Linked DNA regions of Homo sapiens: region 2 is linked to region 1. The links are contacts of gene promoters, found by promoter capture Hi-C in human tissues and cell types (Jung and others, 2019). All regions are on one chromosome and are shown on one strand. Each heading gives the region's core, a stretch centred on a gene start or on the middle of the fragment in contact. The rest is flanking DNA. Distances are from core to core; before and after follow the strand shown.

Evidence for each region. Contacts are between HindIII fragments. The study calls those that stand out against the background at their distance.
Region 2: a contact is called between a fragment that was not itself captured here and the fragment with the promoter of SAMHD1 in region 1, in 2 of the 25 tissues and cell types used here (dorsolateral prefrontal cortex and spleen).

What each region holds. Positions count from the first base shown.
Region 1 is chr20:36,948,945-36,956,716 of GRCh38, forward strand. It overlaps SAMHD1 (SAM and HD domain containing deoxynucleoside triphosphate triphosphohydrolase 1), which reads right to left and starts at 2,764. Exons shown (of 16, transcript NM_015474.4): 1 at 2,492-2,764. The coding sequence starts at 2,699. RefSeq lists a silencer at 2,259-2,478. The HindIII fragment of the contact is 37,170 bases long and covers 1-7,772 here.
Region 2 is chr20:37,515,105-37,522,876 of GRCh38, forward strand. It overlaps BLCAP (BLCAP apoptosis inducing factor), which reads right to left. Exons shown (of 2, transcript NM_006698.4): 2 at 2,313-4,246. The coding sequence starts at 4,070. The coding sequence ends at 3,807. It overlaps NNAT (neuronatin), which reads left to right and starts at 6,146. Exons shown (of 3, transcript NM_005386.4): 1 at 6,146-6,299; 2 at 7,254-7,334; 3 at 7,563-7,772. The coding sequence starts at 6,228. The coding sequence ends at 7,655. RefSeq lists enhancers at 3,491-4,354, 4,355-5,218. The HindIII fragment of the contact is 3,867 bases long and covers 1,409-5,275 here.

The DNA of each region.
Region 1 (7,772 bases), core at 1,514-4,013:
GATATCTGCAAGAGGCTCAGGAATCAAACACATAGGCCGGCCGGGCGCGGTGGCTCACGCCTGTAATCCCAGCACTTTGGGAGGCAGAGGCGGATGCATCACCTGAGGACAGGAGTTGGAGACCAGCCTGGCCAACATGGTGAAACCCTGTCTTTACTAAAAACACAAAATTAGCCAGGCGTGGTGGCGTGCACCTGTAATCCCAGCAACTAGGGAGGCTGAGGCAGGAGAACCACTTGAACCCGAGAGGCAGAGGTTGCAGTGAGCTGAGATTGTGCCGGTGCACTTCAGCCTGCGTGACAGAGCGAGACTCCATCTCAGAAAAAAAATAAAATAATAAAATAAATTTTAAAAAATAATCAAACAGAGGCCCAAGAACCAAACAGAGGTTGGGCATGGTGGCTCACACTTGTAATCCCAGCACTTTAGGAGGCCGAGGTGGGTGGATGGTCACTCGAAGCCAAGAGTTTGAGACCAGCCTGGCCAACATGGCAAAACCCTGTCTCTAATTAAAAAAAAAAAAAAAATGAGGCCGGGCGCGGTGGCTCACGCCTGTAATCCCAGCACTTTGGGAGGCTGAGGCAGGCGGATCACGAGTTCAGGAGATGGAGACCATCCTGGCCAACATGGTGAAACCCCATCTCTACTAAAAATACAAAAAAATTAGCTGGGCGTGGTGGCACATGCCTGTAATCCCAGCTACTCGGGAGGCTGAGGCAGGAGAATAGCTTGAACCAGGCAGTTAGAGGTTGCACTGGGCCGAGATGGCGCCACTGCACTCCAGCCTGGCGACAGAGCGAGACTCTGTCTCAAAAAAAAAAAAAAAAAAAAAAAAGAATCCAACAGAAAAAGGGTCTTCTTTTATATGATAAAGGACGGGCAAGCAGAAATAAGCAGAATCTTTGGATAGGAACCTGGACGAGCAAGGGAAAATGAGCAGTGTAGCCCAACAGGACAGCATCCTACTGTGGTCAGCCGGTTCTCAAAAGAAACTGACCAGAGGGAGGCATATTCCACTGCTTTAGTGCCTGCCTGGTCAGATCTGGGGGTAAGCAAGAGTTGAGGGGCCCATAAGGGAAGAGAGAAGTCCGAATAAAGTTTGGTCAAGACAAAGCAGAAGCTAAGACATGAGCAATTGGGAACAGTTGGTCAGTTTTTACCAAATGAAAGCACATAGTGTCTTTGATAGCAATAGGTTGTAGGTTTAAGGAACACACATCATTCTGGAGGGTAACGAGTTAATCTACAAACCACTGAAACAGAGAGCCAACCACATTTTGAGACAGAAAATATGGAACTACTTCACTCCACTTGTTGCTAGTCAAAGAAAATAAAGTAATAATCCATCCCAGCAGTGGAGGGAAACGAAAGGGCAAAAGGGGGAAGAAAAAAAAAAAAGGAGAAATGCAATTTCCCATACCCATTCAAGCTATCTTTGGGTCCTGAACCACTAATGTTCCTCCTACCCCAGTTTCCAACCTAGCCAAACAGGGCCCCACCTAACAAATGCAAAAATTTACTAAATTTGCAAATCCCAACCACCAAAGAATCACCTTCCTATTGGACACCTAGAGGATATAAGGCAGGAGTCAAATCTCACACCCACCACAAAAAGTTGAGTAGAATTCACAAGGATGGATGCTTGGATACGAATCAGTAAAATATGATTAAAACTCAACCTAAACACTTCTCCAGGGGATGTGGCCAAACTGTGGCATGCTGGGGATTCAGTGGTCAACTGAACAACCCCAAGGTTCAGATTTTGGAGGGGAACCTGCTTTTAAAGAGCAAAACATGTTCCTTACCATGTTCTGCAAGTGCAGTCAACACACGCCTATCGGGCGCTGCTGGGATGCCAAGGAAGGTGATGGGAATTCAGAGATTAACCAAGCCAGTTCCTTCCCCTTCAGGAAAAGCCTCAATTCAGGGAGGAAACCGAAACCTAAAAGCCCCAGAACATCCTCTGATGTGGCAAGTGTTCAAGGAGCTGCGGTTAGCGCGGAGGGGTCCCGCGAGCCTGGATGACAGCAAGCCGCCCACCAAGGTCTGGGGAAAAATCTCCTTCTAACTAAAAAAAAGGGACCCGAGTCTCGCTTGTCCCGCGCCGGGGTGGCAAGTTAGTGAAGAAACCCACGAGAGTGAGATCCCAATCTACGACTGCCCCTCCCAGGTCCTCAATCCCGGGAGCCTGCTCCCATCCTACGAATCGCCTATCCCAGGCGACCCCATGTCTTCTTCCTCCGCCTCGGGGAGTCAGTCCCGGGAGCCCCATGCCGCAGGCCCTCCTGGGAACCCCCGCCGCAGGGCTCCCTCCCCCGCCTCGGGTCTTCCTTTCCTCGGCGCCCCCAGCGCAGGTCCGCCCTCCCGGGTGCCTCCCGCCGCAGGGCTCGCTCCTCGGCCTCGGTCCTCTCGTGGGGCCCCCTCCCTCAGGGCGCCTGGCCCGCGCCCCAGGTCGCCGCCCTTCGCCCCTCAGCCCCTCCGGAGCCGCTACCTCGGATGTTCTTCAGCAGCACCGGCTCTTCAAAGCCACCGCGCCTGAGGAAGGAGCACACCTGCTCCGGACCCCATGTCTTGTAGTCGGGATGGAGTTCCAGGCCCGGGGACCAGTCTGCCTCTGCGGAAGGGGTGTTTGAGGGGGTTCTCGGGCTGTCATCGCAACGGGGACGCTTGGAGGGCTGCTCGGAATCGGCTCGCTGCATGGCTACACCTGGCGTCCGGCACAGCAGTCAAGAACCTCGGCGCCGGACCCGCGCGCAGGCGCACTGACAGCAGGGCCCTGGCGGGGAGTCCAAGGAGTATTGGCAGCCTATTGGCCTCCTGCGCAGGCTCACTGACAGTTGAGCCCTTCGGGCAGGGCAGCCTAGCGGCTCTTGCCTTGGGCTCCCTGCGCAGGCGCAATGGCAGTCCAGTCGTCCTCAAATCAATCCCGCCAGGGCGCTGGACGTGAACGCGAAAGGGCGTGGCTAGAAGCAGAACTGAGGGCAGTGCTGGTGGAAAGGGGGAGGAAAGAGCGCGCCCGGCACCGCACCCCCAATTAGGGGCTCGTCTAGTGAATTGGGGGTATTCTCCTTCGAATGAGTACACTACCCGCCGCACCTTGGCCGGGTTTCAGATGCCCCAAACTTAAAAGAAGCCTAAAAGGCCGTCAGGCTGCCAGCACCTTCCCAGTGAAGAGGAAAACAGTCAAGGTGCTGAACTGGAAGAACCCGGAATGATTTCAAATGTGACTTGAGGGTGTCTTCATTCCACAGTATTGCTGGTCAACTAGAGGGCCCTGGGATACCTGTTGTCTGGTGTCCACACAGGAGGGGACTTCAGACTTCTTTCCAACTAGAGACAGAGCCCTCCATCCCAACTGCATTCCCAGAGGAAGGAAAGTGGCCAGTCTGATTACTTAAAATTTAACTTCTGAGGACTTTTACTGCCTGGTTGTAACAGCATGTGAAAATGGCAGGCATTTTCCCATCACTTAACCCCTCTGCGGCAGGGCTCAAACTTCCCTATAAATACTGGTCCATGCAATTGCCTGGTAAAAGGACATATCACTATTACTGTTAATAAAGCCAACACACCTTCCCAGCAACCAAGGCATAGACCTGTTTAGGGGGTCAAGGACGAATGAGGCGGAATAGCTTATCATCAAGCAGTATGAACTAGTGGTCTACTGGTGAGCCAAAATATTATTTGCAAACAGAGCTTTACTGTGTGCCAGGCACGGTTCTAAGGGCTTTACAAATATAAAATAATTTTATATTTATACATAATACTAAATGAATTAAGTACATTCATTAAATTATTTAAATATTAAATAATTTTTATAACTTCTAAGGGTTTTACAAATATTGTAAAGTTCTAAGGGCTCTACACATATTACTTCACTTAATTATCACAATTACCTTAGGATGTAGGAAAAAGTAATTTGCCGCAGGTCTTCTTTTTTTTTTTTGAGACGGAGTCTTGCTCTGTTTCCCAAGCTGGAGTGCAGTGGCGTGATCTCAGCTCACTGCAACCTCTGCCTCCCAGGTTCAAGTGATTCTCATGCCTCAGACTCCCAAGTAGCTGGGACTACAGGCGCCTGCCACCACACCTGGCTAATTTTTGTATTTTTAGTAGAGACAGGATTTCACCATGTTGGCCAGGCTGGTCTTGAACTCCTGACCTCAGGTGATTCCCACACCTCAGCCTCCCAAAGTGCTGGGATTACACAGCCGTACCCAGCTGCCCAAGGTCTTACAGCTAGGAAATGATGAAGCCTGTATTCAAACCCAAGAGATGTAACTTGGTTCCAAAGTCCATGGTCTTGATAACTTGCCAACCACTGCTTGTTAAAGGGGGTTTGGGGCTGGGTGCAGTGGCTCATGCCTGTAATCCCAGCACTTTGGGAGGCCAGAGCACTCACTTGAGGCCAGGAGTTCAAGGCCAACCTGGCCAACATGGTGAAACCCCATCTCTACTAAAATACAAAAATTAGCCAGGCCTGGTGGTGCATGCCTGTAATCCCAGCTACTCAGGAGGCGGGGGCACGAGAATCACTCAAATGTGGGAGGTGTAGGTTGCAGTGAGCCAAGATCTTCCCGTTGCACTCCAGCCTGGGCAACAGAGCAAGACTCTGTTTCAAAAATAATAATAATAAAAAATAAATAAATAAGTAAAGGGGGTTTTGATATAAAACTATTTTCTATTATTTAACCCACAATTTTCAATGGCTCCCTTTTCCTGCAGACCCATGGAGGAAAGTATAAAGGTGTTCCTGCCAGGCGCAGTGGCTCACGTCTGTAATCCCAGCACTTTGGGAGGCCGAGGCGGGTGGATCACCTGAGGTCAGGAGTTCGAGACCAGCCTGGCCAACATGGCAAAACCCTGTCTCTACTAAAATTACAAAAATTAGCTGGGTGGCCAGGCGCAGTAGCTGTCACCTGTAATCCCAGCACTTTGGGAGGCCGAGGCGGGTGGATCACAAGGTCAGGAGTTCAAGACTAGTCTGGCCAACATGATGAAACCCGTCTCTACTAAAAATACAAAACAATTAGCTGGGCATCGTAGCAGGCACCTGTAATCCCAGCTACTTGAGAGGCTGAGGCAGAGAATTGCTTGAACCTGGGAGGCGGAGGTTGCAGTGAGCTTGGATCGCGCCACTGCACTCCAGCCTGGGCAACAGAGCGAGACTCCGTCTCAAAAAAAAAAAAAAAAAAATTAGCCGGGCGTGGTGGCAGCCGCCTGTAATCCCAGCTACTCAGGAGGCTGAGGCAGGAGAATCGCTTGAACCTGGGAGGTGGAGGTTGAAGTGAGCCATAGCCTGGGAGACAAAAGTGAAACTCTATCTCAAAAAAAAAAAAAAAAAAAGAGTTGTTTTCCATCTGCACACAAGGCCAGGCCCCCCAAAAAAATGCCCTCAAACACTAGAGAACTTTGTGAAAAGACCTGACAGTTGCCAAGACTTGCGAAACCAAAACGGGATAAGAAAACAAATAGCATATGTATGAAAGACTTAATCTCAAGTCAGAAATGGCTGATTTAAAAACTTGTGTTTATAAGACCTGTGGGGAAACCTGCCCTGACATCAAGGTTTCCTGGACAATAGAAGGTGTTATAGCAGGGTTTTTAGTTTAATCAACTGTGTTTGTTCAAAGCAGCTGCTTTTAAGAATTTTTAGTTTTTTAATTTCATTTTTTTATTTTAATTTTAATTTTAATTTTTTTTGAGACAGAGTCTTGCTCTGTGGCCCAGGGTGGAGTGCAGTGGTGCAATCTGGGCTCACTGCAAACCTCTGCCTCCCGGGTTCAAGCGATTCTCCTGCCTCAGCCTCCTGAGTAGCTGGGATTATAGGCACCCGCCACGACGCCCAACTAATTTTTTTGTATTTTTAGTAGAGACGGGGTTTCACCATGTTGGCCAGGCTGGCTTTGAACTCCTGACCTCAAGTGATCAGTGAACTCCTGACCTCAAGTGCCTTGGCCTCCCAAAGTGCTCAGATTACAGGCATGAGCCACCGCACCCATCCAGAACTTTTATTTTCTGTTTTTGTTTGTTAAAAAGTATAATTTATTGCCATACTTATTATATTTTCCCTAATTCCCTACTTTCAAGGGGCCTTTGATCTTGCGCTAGGTCATTAGTTACTTGTTCAGGGTCAACATGGCTGGTAAGGGACAGAGAGAGGATTCAAAGGCAGTGCTCCCTCGCTCCAAAGTATAGGCTCTTTCCAGTTTGCCACTTCATTTAACTCCTCTTACAGTCCTAACGATCCTTTTCCATCATAATTCCACAGCCTGGGAACCAACACCCACTGGACACAGGCCCTGGACTCTGGCCATAGTGAGAGAAATGACTGCTCAAGCTGCCCTCTTCTAAAGTCAATCTCAGTATGGTTAGGACTAGAAAAAACAATAAGATCAATTAATTTAAGGCCCACTGCCCAATGACCTTGAATAAGCCCAGCAAGCTTTCCCTGACCTTATCTATTTACCTTCCACCCAGCCAGGCAAGCTGGGCAATTTTATTTCTGGCAGCATTCACCTGTGGTTTTTACATCTCTTCACAGCTTCCTTTTCAGCCAGTGTTGCTGGTTCTCAATGCCAGCTGCCACCACCCTCTGCATCTCTGTTTTACTGCCTTTTATCATTTACTGAACTTAGCCTCCTCAAGACTTTTTTTCCCATCTGCCCAAATTGCGAAGCTGAGCCAAAAAAATTTTTTTTTAAGTATTGATTTTCTTACCTGTTAAAGATAATGCTCAAGTAGGACAGGCGCAGTGGCTCACGCCTGTAATCCCAGCACTTTGGGAGGCCGAGGTGGGCGGATCACCTGTGGTCAGGAGTTCAAAACCAGCCTGGCCAACATGGTGAAACACCGTCTCTACCAAAAATACAAAAATTAGCCAGGTGCACGTCTGTAATCCCAGCTACTCAGGAGACTGAGGCAGGAGAATCACTTGAACCCGGAAGGCGGAGGGGTTGCAGTGAGCCAAGATCATTCCACTGTACTCCAGCCTGGGCACCAGAGCAAGACTCCATCTCAAAAAATAAAATGAAATAAAATAAATAATGCTCAAGAAAGAAAACTTGAACCGGGTGCGGTGGCTCTTGCATGTAATCCTAGCCCCTTGGGAGGGCATGGTGGGTGGGTCCCTTGAGCTCAGGAGTTTGAGACCAGCCTGGACAATGTGACAAAACTCCGTCTCTATTAAAAATGTAATAATAAAAAAAAAATTAGCTGTGTGTGGTGGCTTGTGCCTGTAATCCCAGCCACTAGGGAAGCTGAGGTGGGAAGATCATGTTTGCCTGGGAAGTTGACGCTGCAATGAGCTGAGATCAAGCCACTGCACTTCTAGCCTGGGCAAAGGAAGTAAGACCCTACCTCAAAGAAAAAAAAAAGAAAAAGAAATAAAGAACACTAGGCCAGGTGTGGTGGCACATGCCTATAATCCCAGTACTTTGAAAGGCTGAGGTGAGAGGATTGCATGAGGCCAGGAGACAGAGAGCAACCTGGTCAACATAGCAAGACCCTGTCTCTATAAAAAATAAAAATTAAAAAATTAAAAAGGCCGGGCCTGGTGGCTCATACCTGTAATGCCAGCAGTTTGGGAGGCCAAGGTGGGCAGATCACTTCAGCTCAGGAGTTTGAGACCAACCTGAGCAACATAGTGAGAACCCGTCCCTACAAAAAATACAAAAATTAGCTTGGCATGGTGACGTATGCCTGTAGTCCCAACTACTCAGGAGGCTGAGGTGGGAGGATCACCTGAGCCTGGAGAGGTTGAGGCTACAGTGAGC
Region 2 (7,772 bases), core at 2,092-4,591, 570 kb after region 1:
TACTTTCATCCCAGTCTCTTTATCTGTAAGCAGAGATGCTTGATTAGATGGTAAAATAATAATAACATCTCATTCATTACTTCACTGCTCAAACCTTTATATTTGTTCTTCAGGTCTCCACCTGAAAGTCAATCCTTCCAGGCCTACATTGGGTCCCCTCTTAGACCTTCTCTTCTAGCAGCTGACACAGTCCACGGTTGTGTATCGCTGGCATTATCTGCTCAATGTTGTGCCCTTTCCCATTAGCCTGGAGGGCTCCCTAATGGCAGGAACTGTCCACCCTGTAGTCTCAAGGCCTATTCCTGCATGGGATTCTGCCAAATACCAGCCAAATGACTGACAATGCAGGCCCCCTTGGGAGACAAGAGGAGCCCATGAACTCAGTCGCTACAGAAGGGGAAGTCTGCGTAACACTAGCAGTAGCACTCAACAGAAGGCTGAGTGAAACGCTCCAGTCAAGTAGATCCCCAGGGAGAAGAAATCCAGGGAAGCTTCCTGACAGAGGAAATACCTGGGCTCACATGGTACACTGACTAAAGCATAAAGCCCATGCCATCCTGAAAGTGCACTGCCACCTACTCAGAGCCCAGCTAACATCCTCAAATGGGTCCAGGAAGACCCTAGATCTTGGGAGAAAGAACTCCCAGGATATTAGGACTAGAAAAACTGTCTGCTCCAAAGACCACATTTTACCTCTCTGGAAACTGGGGCCCACAGCAGGGTAAGAACCAGTTCCTAAAGAAGCCCAGACCTAGGCCTTATGGTGTCTTGTGGTCACTAGGTACCATGTGGGCAACCGTTTCACACTGAGCCACAGTGACCAATGTAATTGTGTGTTTTTCTAAGGCCTGCTGCCCCTACTCTTTTCCAGAAAAGGTATCTACTTTTCATTTTCCTAAAAGGCAGTTCAGGAAGAGGGGGTGGTTGCCTGGCAAGGTAGGAAGCACTGTGGGGTGACAGAATGCTGATTTGGCAGTCACTTTGGGAAGGGGTGGGCTGCAGGCTCCCTGCTGGAAAGGGCCACAAATCTTTCAGAGGGAGGCCTGTTTGTGACTCTTAAGCGGGCTTGACCTAAAACAGAAAGCTGCTTTCCGAGGGAGAGCAAAATAAGCAATAATCTTGGCTTCATTTATCATCCAGGTGTCGCCACAGGAGAGTAGGGACACAAAAGCCTTTTTTTTGTTTGTTTTGTTTTTGGAATTTGCAATTGTCTATTTTGTTAAGTCTTCCCACTAGGCTACAATCATGAGCTCCTGAAGAGTCAGGTCTGAGTCTTGCCCCTGAAATCCCCAGCAAGCCTAGTACAGGGTCTCAATGTTTGTTGAACAAACCATCCTTTCCAGGTATGACTCCTCAGCTTGTCAAGACTTTGCAGAACCACGAAATCTATCCAGAAACACAGAAAAGAAGAATTCAGAGATAAAAGCATAAAAGAATCAGGTAAGAAAATTACCCAGCAGATATGATCGATAAAAGTTTGGTTCTTTGAAAATACCTCTAAAATAGACAAATCTTTGGCAAGTTTTGAATGAAAAAAGGAATAAAGTGACAATGGGGAGACTTAAGTGAACAGGAGAAAACCATACTCAATTTTATAGCAACAAATTTAAAGCCTAGGTAGAACAGGTGATCTTCTATGAAATTACCAAAGCCCTTCACGACTGTGACTCAATAAAACCTCACGACAGCCCTGTGCCTTGGACAGGCAGTATTCCTACCATGCTTTCTAGAAGAAGGAGATTCAGAGGTGAATACTCAGCACAGGACCTGACAAACTAGCCTACACTGTCTCAAAGGTCATGGCCATGGGAGCACGTGCATACCTACAACATGGAACCACACCACTCTCGGCACTTCCAGCCATCACCTTACATCCGGCTGGTTGGACAGCCAGTCTTATTTATTTTTCCACTTGAAATGCCATAAGGGGTTTCACTATTTTTACTTCAAAAGCAGCACCATAAAAATCCTTGATGATTAGAGCTCCAGCTGTCTTAAGTTGTTTGTCAAGGGATCGGTTACTCAAATCTCCTATGGAGGGAAACAATTTCAGGCAAGAAGCCATGGGAGCTGAGAAACGCAAATGTCTCATCTCTGAAAACTTTCAGACTCCCTCCTGTTCACCGCCTGTCCTGCCCCCTGCTCCCCCTCCCCCATCCCCACCATCTGCTCTCCAGAAAGCAGATCAAATTTTCAGGCTAAGGTACTCTGGCGCCAAAGACTCAGCCCCTCCATGCTTCCCCCTGCCCCCCACCAACTCCGAAATCCAACACCACGACCCAAATGGACTGCAGCCACATAAAACCACAAAGTAAAGTTTATAAAGCTTTATTAAACATTTCAAACAGCTGTGCAACGAACACACCAAATAAAAGCTCTAGAATAGCAGTCCAGACGTTTCACAAGTATGGCCTCACAGTCCCATTCCCTAGATGGACTGCCTCCAGTTCTGTTCTCTGCCTGGCCCATCTCTCTTTCCCCTCAGGCAAGAGAGAGATGGATGGATCAGACTGAAAGGACAGGCATGCTGATCTCCAGCAGGCAGGGGCCAGGAGAAAGTCTCGTTTGCCAACACTTGTTACTGAAGCGCAGAAAAAGCAGCAAGTGACAGTCACAAAGTCTTCCTGGGTATTCTTCATAATGTACAGTCTATATGCGCAGGAACGAAGAAGCTCCTGGCGGGAGGATGATGGCCACTGCTCCCCTCTGTCTTGTCTGAACCACCTCGGAGTCCAGTGTGCTGGTCACTCTGCAATCCCCATGCTAAATAAAAACTGTAGCGGCACCTACCATATATAGCTAGCTATTGCTAAACCTCAAAATCAGACCACGTTCGATAAAGCTTCTTTAAAAGGAATATACACATGTATTTGTACACACACACACACAGGGCACACCAAAAAATATCCAAACATCTATCAAGGGGATCAAGGCCGTTACGAAACACACAGGTACTCTCCCACTCACTCAGCTGGGGACTGCTAGAACTACGTGAACACACCATACTTCAATGCTGCAGAGCATGCACGGGAGACACAATGAGGCCCCCTCCTTGGGACAGTTGAGAAAGGCAGGAGGAAGGGCAAAGGAAGTGAGGCTGGGCGGGAAAGCTTGAGCCCAGACACCCAGGTGAAAGAGCAACATCTATCTGTTGCTTCCTTTCTTAAAAATGAAGTGGAGAAAATACTGAAGATTTGTGGACAACTAACAGTCAAGACATGTTTCTGTCTAGCCTGCTGAACAAGGAAAGAAGGATGAAAAAGCGAGGCTCTCGGGCGTCAGCAATCTCTTCAAATTCGAGATAAGTGCAAAAATGAGCCCTGTCTTGGACAGGTACTCCCCAAAAAAGGAAAAGGGTAGAAGAGAAATAAAGGGAAACCAGAAGAGGGACTGAGGAGTCAGTAACATTCTGGGAAGGAAGGAGACCCTGACAAGGAGGGGTCACAGAGGTGACAATGAGACTGGCATTTTATCTGCCCCAGGTCACATTGGGGCAGCTGACCAGGATGGACCCAGACTCCTCACAGTAATGAGGCGAGAGGGGTGGTCATGCGGCCAGCCAGGACCTAGATGGGGACAGAACACACACAACCACAAGACCACCCACGACTATAGGACTTTACAATAAAAGCACCGGTCAGTGCCATTATTCACATTGTAAGGATAAAACATCACAGGCCAAAAAGGCGCCGTCAGGAATGTGACACCCGCGAGGCTGCGGGATTTGAAACTCCAATGCTTTATGACCTATGTCAATGCCTCCCCTCCCGTCTTCTGCTTCCTTGGAAAGCTAACAGGGCAGGCCGTTAGGTGCCCACAACGCCGGGATCATGCGCCGATTCTGGAAGCGGGGAATCGGAGCAGTGGTACAGGAAACAGTTTCCCCAGCAGCTATAGCAGATAAGGAACAGGGCTGCCAGGAAAACCAAGGCACAAATTGTGCAAGGCTTCCGTTCCAGGAGGAAGCTGAGCAGGTAGAAGCCCATGAACATGGAGTGGCTGAACCACAGGGCGGGGTTGAGGGGCTTGGGGATGAGGAGGACGGGCAGCAGCCACTGGAGGCAATACATGATCTCTGCCGGGCAGGGCCTTCACCAAGGCTGCCGGGCACCGCTGCAGGAACCGACCTAATGGGAGCCAGCGGGCGCAGGCGGCTGCCCTCCGCTTTCTTCAACCCTCACTCTCCAGGAGCTGAGCCGCTGTGCTCTCTGGCTGTCAGCCCGGGATCACCAAGGCAGCAGGGATCCTGAAGAGAAAAGTCAACACAACAGACAAACAGACAAAGAACAGACAGACAGACAAAAAAAAAAAAAAAAAAAGAAAAAAAAAAAAAAAACAGGAACAGAATGTATACTTATTTGGGAAAATGGATCATGGTTAACAACAGCAAATGTGAAATGCCCTTTCCTCCCTGCCCACCCGTGAAAGTTCTACTCCTCTCCAAGTCACTAATTCGGGAAGCTTCCTGGGATGTCTCCCCGGGGCTTCTCCTGGGGGATCGGGGAGAGGGCTCTTTGGCACGGTTTCACACAGTGGGCTGGCTTTGCCTGGGCCCTGCCCAGCAGAGATCATGTATCGCCTCCTGGGGCTGCAGCCCGTCCTCAAGGGGCCCAGACCTCACAATACCGCCCAGTGGTTGCCAAAGGACGACCAAGGGCTCCCTGCTGTGCCCCCACGTGGTAAGGACAGGGTTCTGTATCTAGCATCTCTCACAGCCATAGGTGCTCAGGCACTAAGTGCAGAGTTAAAGCTGTTAGCGGGGCACTGCCGGCCACCAGACCACAGGCAAAGGATCCTGAGGCAGCTACAGCCTCGAAATATTTTAAGATGGCAGCCTAGGCTAAGCTTGCCTTTTTCAAACAGCCCAGCGTCACTTTGCCAGAATCTGCCAACTTCTCCGAAAGTCAATGTAGAAAAAAAGTCACTATGCTACTTTGTCCAAACTGAACTCGTTTGGATCATTACACCTCCATCTGCTGCTGGCACTGTATAGAACCTGACCTCTGGGAGCTTTTAATGAAAATTAATTTTCTATCCACATAGGGGCAAATGCCAGTTGGTCCCTGGGCCAGGCAGCTTGCTGGAAAGAGGTGCTTTCGGCTGGCTACCGGTGCGCGGGGACCACACTCACAAACCGCATTCCGGTCTTCCCGCCCGAAAATCCGCGCTGTGCGAGGGACCCACAAGACTGGCGGTCTAAAAGGGACCCGCCTCACTTGGAAACGGGGCTGCGGTAGCCACAACCCTCCGGTAGCGGTAGCGTAACCCCGTTCGGTGATCCAGCCGCACAGCGCAACGGGTACAAAGAACCCCACTGGCTAAGGCCGACCTACCAGGGCTTGGGGGAGGGGAGCGGAAGACTGAGGTCGAAACGACCTGTCCAGCAGAAAACTATCCCCAAGCATATTCCAACCACTTCTCCGTAGAGCTCATTCCTTCCGTGCATACGAAGGGCGCCAATCCTTCCTGTATCCCTCCTACAGATACCGGGTGACTACTGCTTTTGCGCCCAAAGCGCAGTGCTCTGGCTCAGCTCCCTACAGTAGCGACCTCCACCGCAGATTCTCATCTCCTCGCTACCGTAAGAGAGATGTAAAGAATCAGACGGGTTACGCGCTCAGGCACCCTCATGAAGCAGAGGACCTGGGCTTAAAACTCATTCAGTATCAGGAAAAGAGCGCCGAGCACGGGCCTATTATGCCAAAGCTTCTGAAAGGGGCACCACGTTTTTTGCTCTATGGGGCAGATGACCCCTCCCTAATTTCGGTTTTCCATCCATCCCCAAGGTAGGCTTTGGAGTGGCACCGGAGACTGAGCTCAAATTTGCAGGCCAGGGACTGGGGAGAAGGGCGCCACACTAAGAGACCTGCACCCCCATTCTCGCCCTGTACTCTACCCAGAGTCGTGGTACCCCTCCATTTTAAAGCAAAATCCAAAAGCAAGCACGGCGGAATCTTCTGGAAGGGGGCTAAGATGGAACTCAGGAGGCGGGGGTCGGTATGGAAAGAGCAGATGGATTATTTTTTTCCTCTCCTGGCGAATGAGGAGCGCCCCCAGCCACCCCTCCTCATAAACACCCCCCAAGGCGCGCATGCGCACTTAGGTGGCGGGCGGGTACTTAAGGCGCGGCCACCGCGGCTGCGGCAGTGCGCCCAACAGCGGACTCCGAGACCAGCGGATCTCGGCAAACCCTCTTTCTCGACCACCCACCTACCATTCTTGGAACCATGGCGGCAGTGGCGGCGGCCTCGGCTGAACTGCTCATCATCGGCTGGTACATCTTCCGCGTGCTGCTGCAGGTAAGTCTGACGGGGTTTCGGGTGGGAGAGGGTTCCCAACTCGCGCCCCTAGAACCCGCAAGACTGCGTCGCGATTGCCGCTTCCCGGACCCGTCCTATTCCGATTGCCGCGATCCTTGCCTGCCCAAGTGCCGCTGCCGGCACCGCGCGCCCCCTGCCCATTCCCTGCGCCGTCCTCCTCGCGCTGACCCTCCCTAGTGCGCCCGCGCCTGCCAGGGAACAAAGACTCGGGGCGCGGCGGGCGACCGCTGCGGACGATCACCCAGGCATTTAGCGACCTACGCGGTAAGAAAAACCCGCTACACCCGGACTCGACCCCAGGAGGGAGGCGGGGCACTACTGTGTTGAAAGACTTTACAGCTCGCAGAGTGAAAATTTTCCACCTTAAAAAATTGCGCATTGCGGAGAAATTTTATTTAAAAAAACATATAGCGCTTGCGGGGGTGGAACAAAAAATAAGTTAGAAAAAGGCACTTCTCAGAAAAAATAAAAATTACTTCGCAAAAAAAAAAAACCCTACAACGAATTAGAGAAAAAGTAGTTCACAGGAAAACAGAAAAACGCGCATTGCAGGAAAAATAAATCGGAGAAAAGCACTTGGCAGAAAAAAATGCATTAGATTAAAAACGCACTGCAGAAAAAAATTAGACAAGGGAGCTAACGGAAAAAAATGGATCGGGCAAAAACGCTTTAAAGAAAAAAATTAGAGGAAAAAGCCCCTCGAGAGAAAAATAGAAGGGGAAAAAAAGCACTTCCAAAAAAGGACAATTGCTTTACAAAAAAAAAAATAATAATAAAAAAAATAAAAAAGAGGCAAAAGCGCTTGGTGTAAAAAGAGATAAATCAGAAGAAAGCGCTTTGCCCATAAAATCATTTACCCTAAAAGCTCCCTTTGCAGGAAGAATTCCCTGCTAAAGGAATCCTTTGCCAAAGGAATCGCATATTTCCTTCAAGGTGTTCCTGGAATGCTGCATTTACTGGGTAGGATTCGCTTTTCGAAATCCTCCAGGGACACAGCCCATTGCGAGAAGTGAGGTATACCTAAGTTGTGGGTCCAATCAGCTTGCCGCCATGCAGCTCTCAGCACAGTTGGAAAAGCTCCAGCTGCCCTGACTCGTGGACAAGCTGCGCCCGCGCCCGCCTCTCCAGCCTACGCTGGATGGGCGGGCGGGGCAGGGGGTGGGGCGGGGGTGGGCACGGCAGCACCACAGACATGCTGTGGGTGCTCTCCACTAAGGGTGGGTCCTGGGTTTCTCGTCGCAGGTGTTCAGGTACTCCCTGCAGAAGCTGGCATACACGGTGTCGCGGACCGGGCGGCAGGTGTTGGGGGAGCGCAGGCAGCGAGCCCCCAACTGAGGCCCCAGCTCCCAGCCCTGGGCGGCCGTATCATCAGGTGCTCCTGTGCATCTCGGCCAGCACGGGAGCCAGTGCCGCGCAGGAATGTGGGGTCCCCTGTGTTCCCTCGCCAGAGGA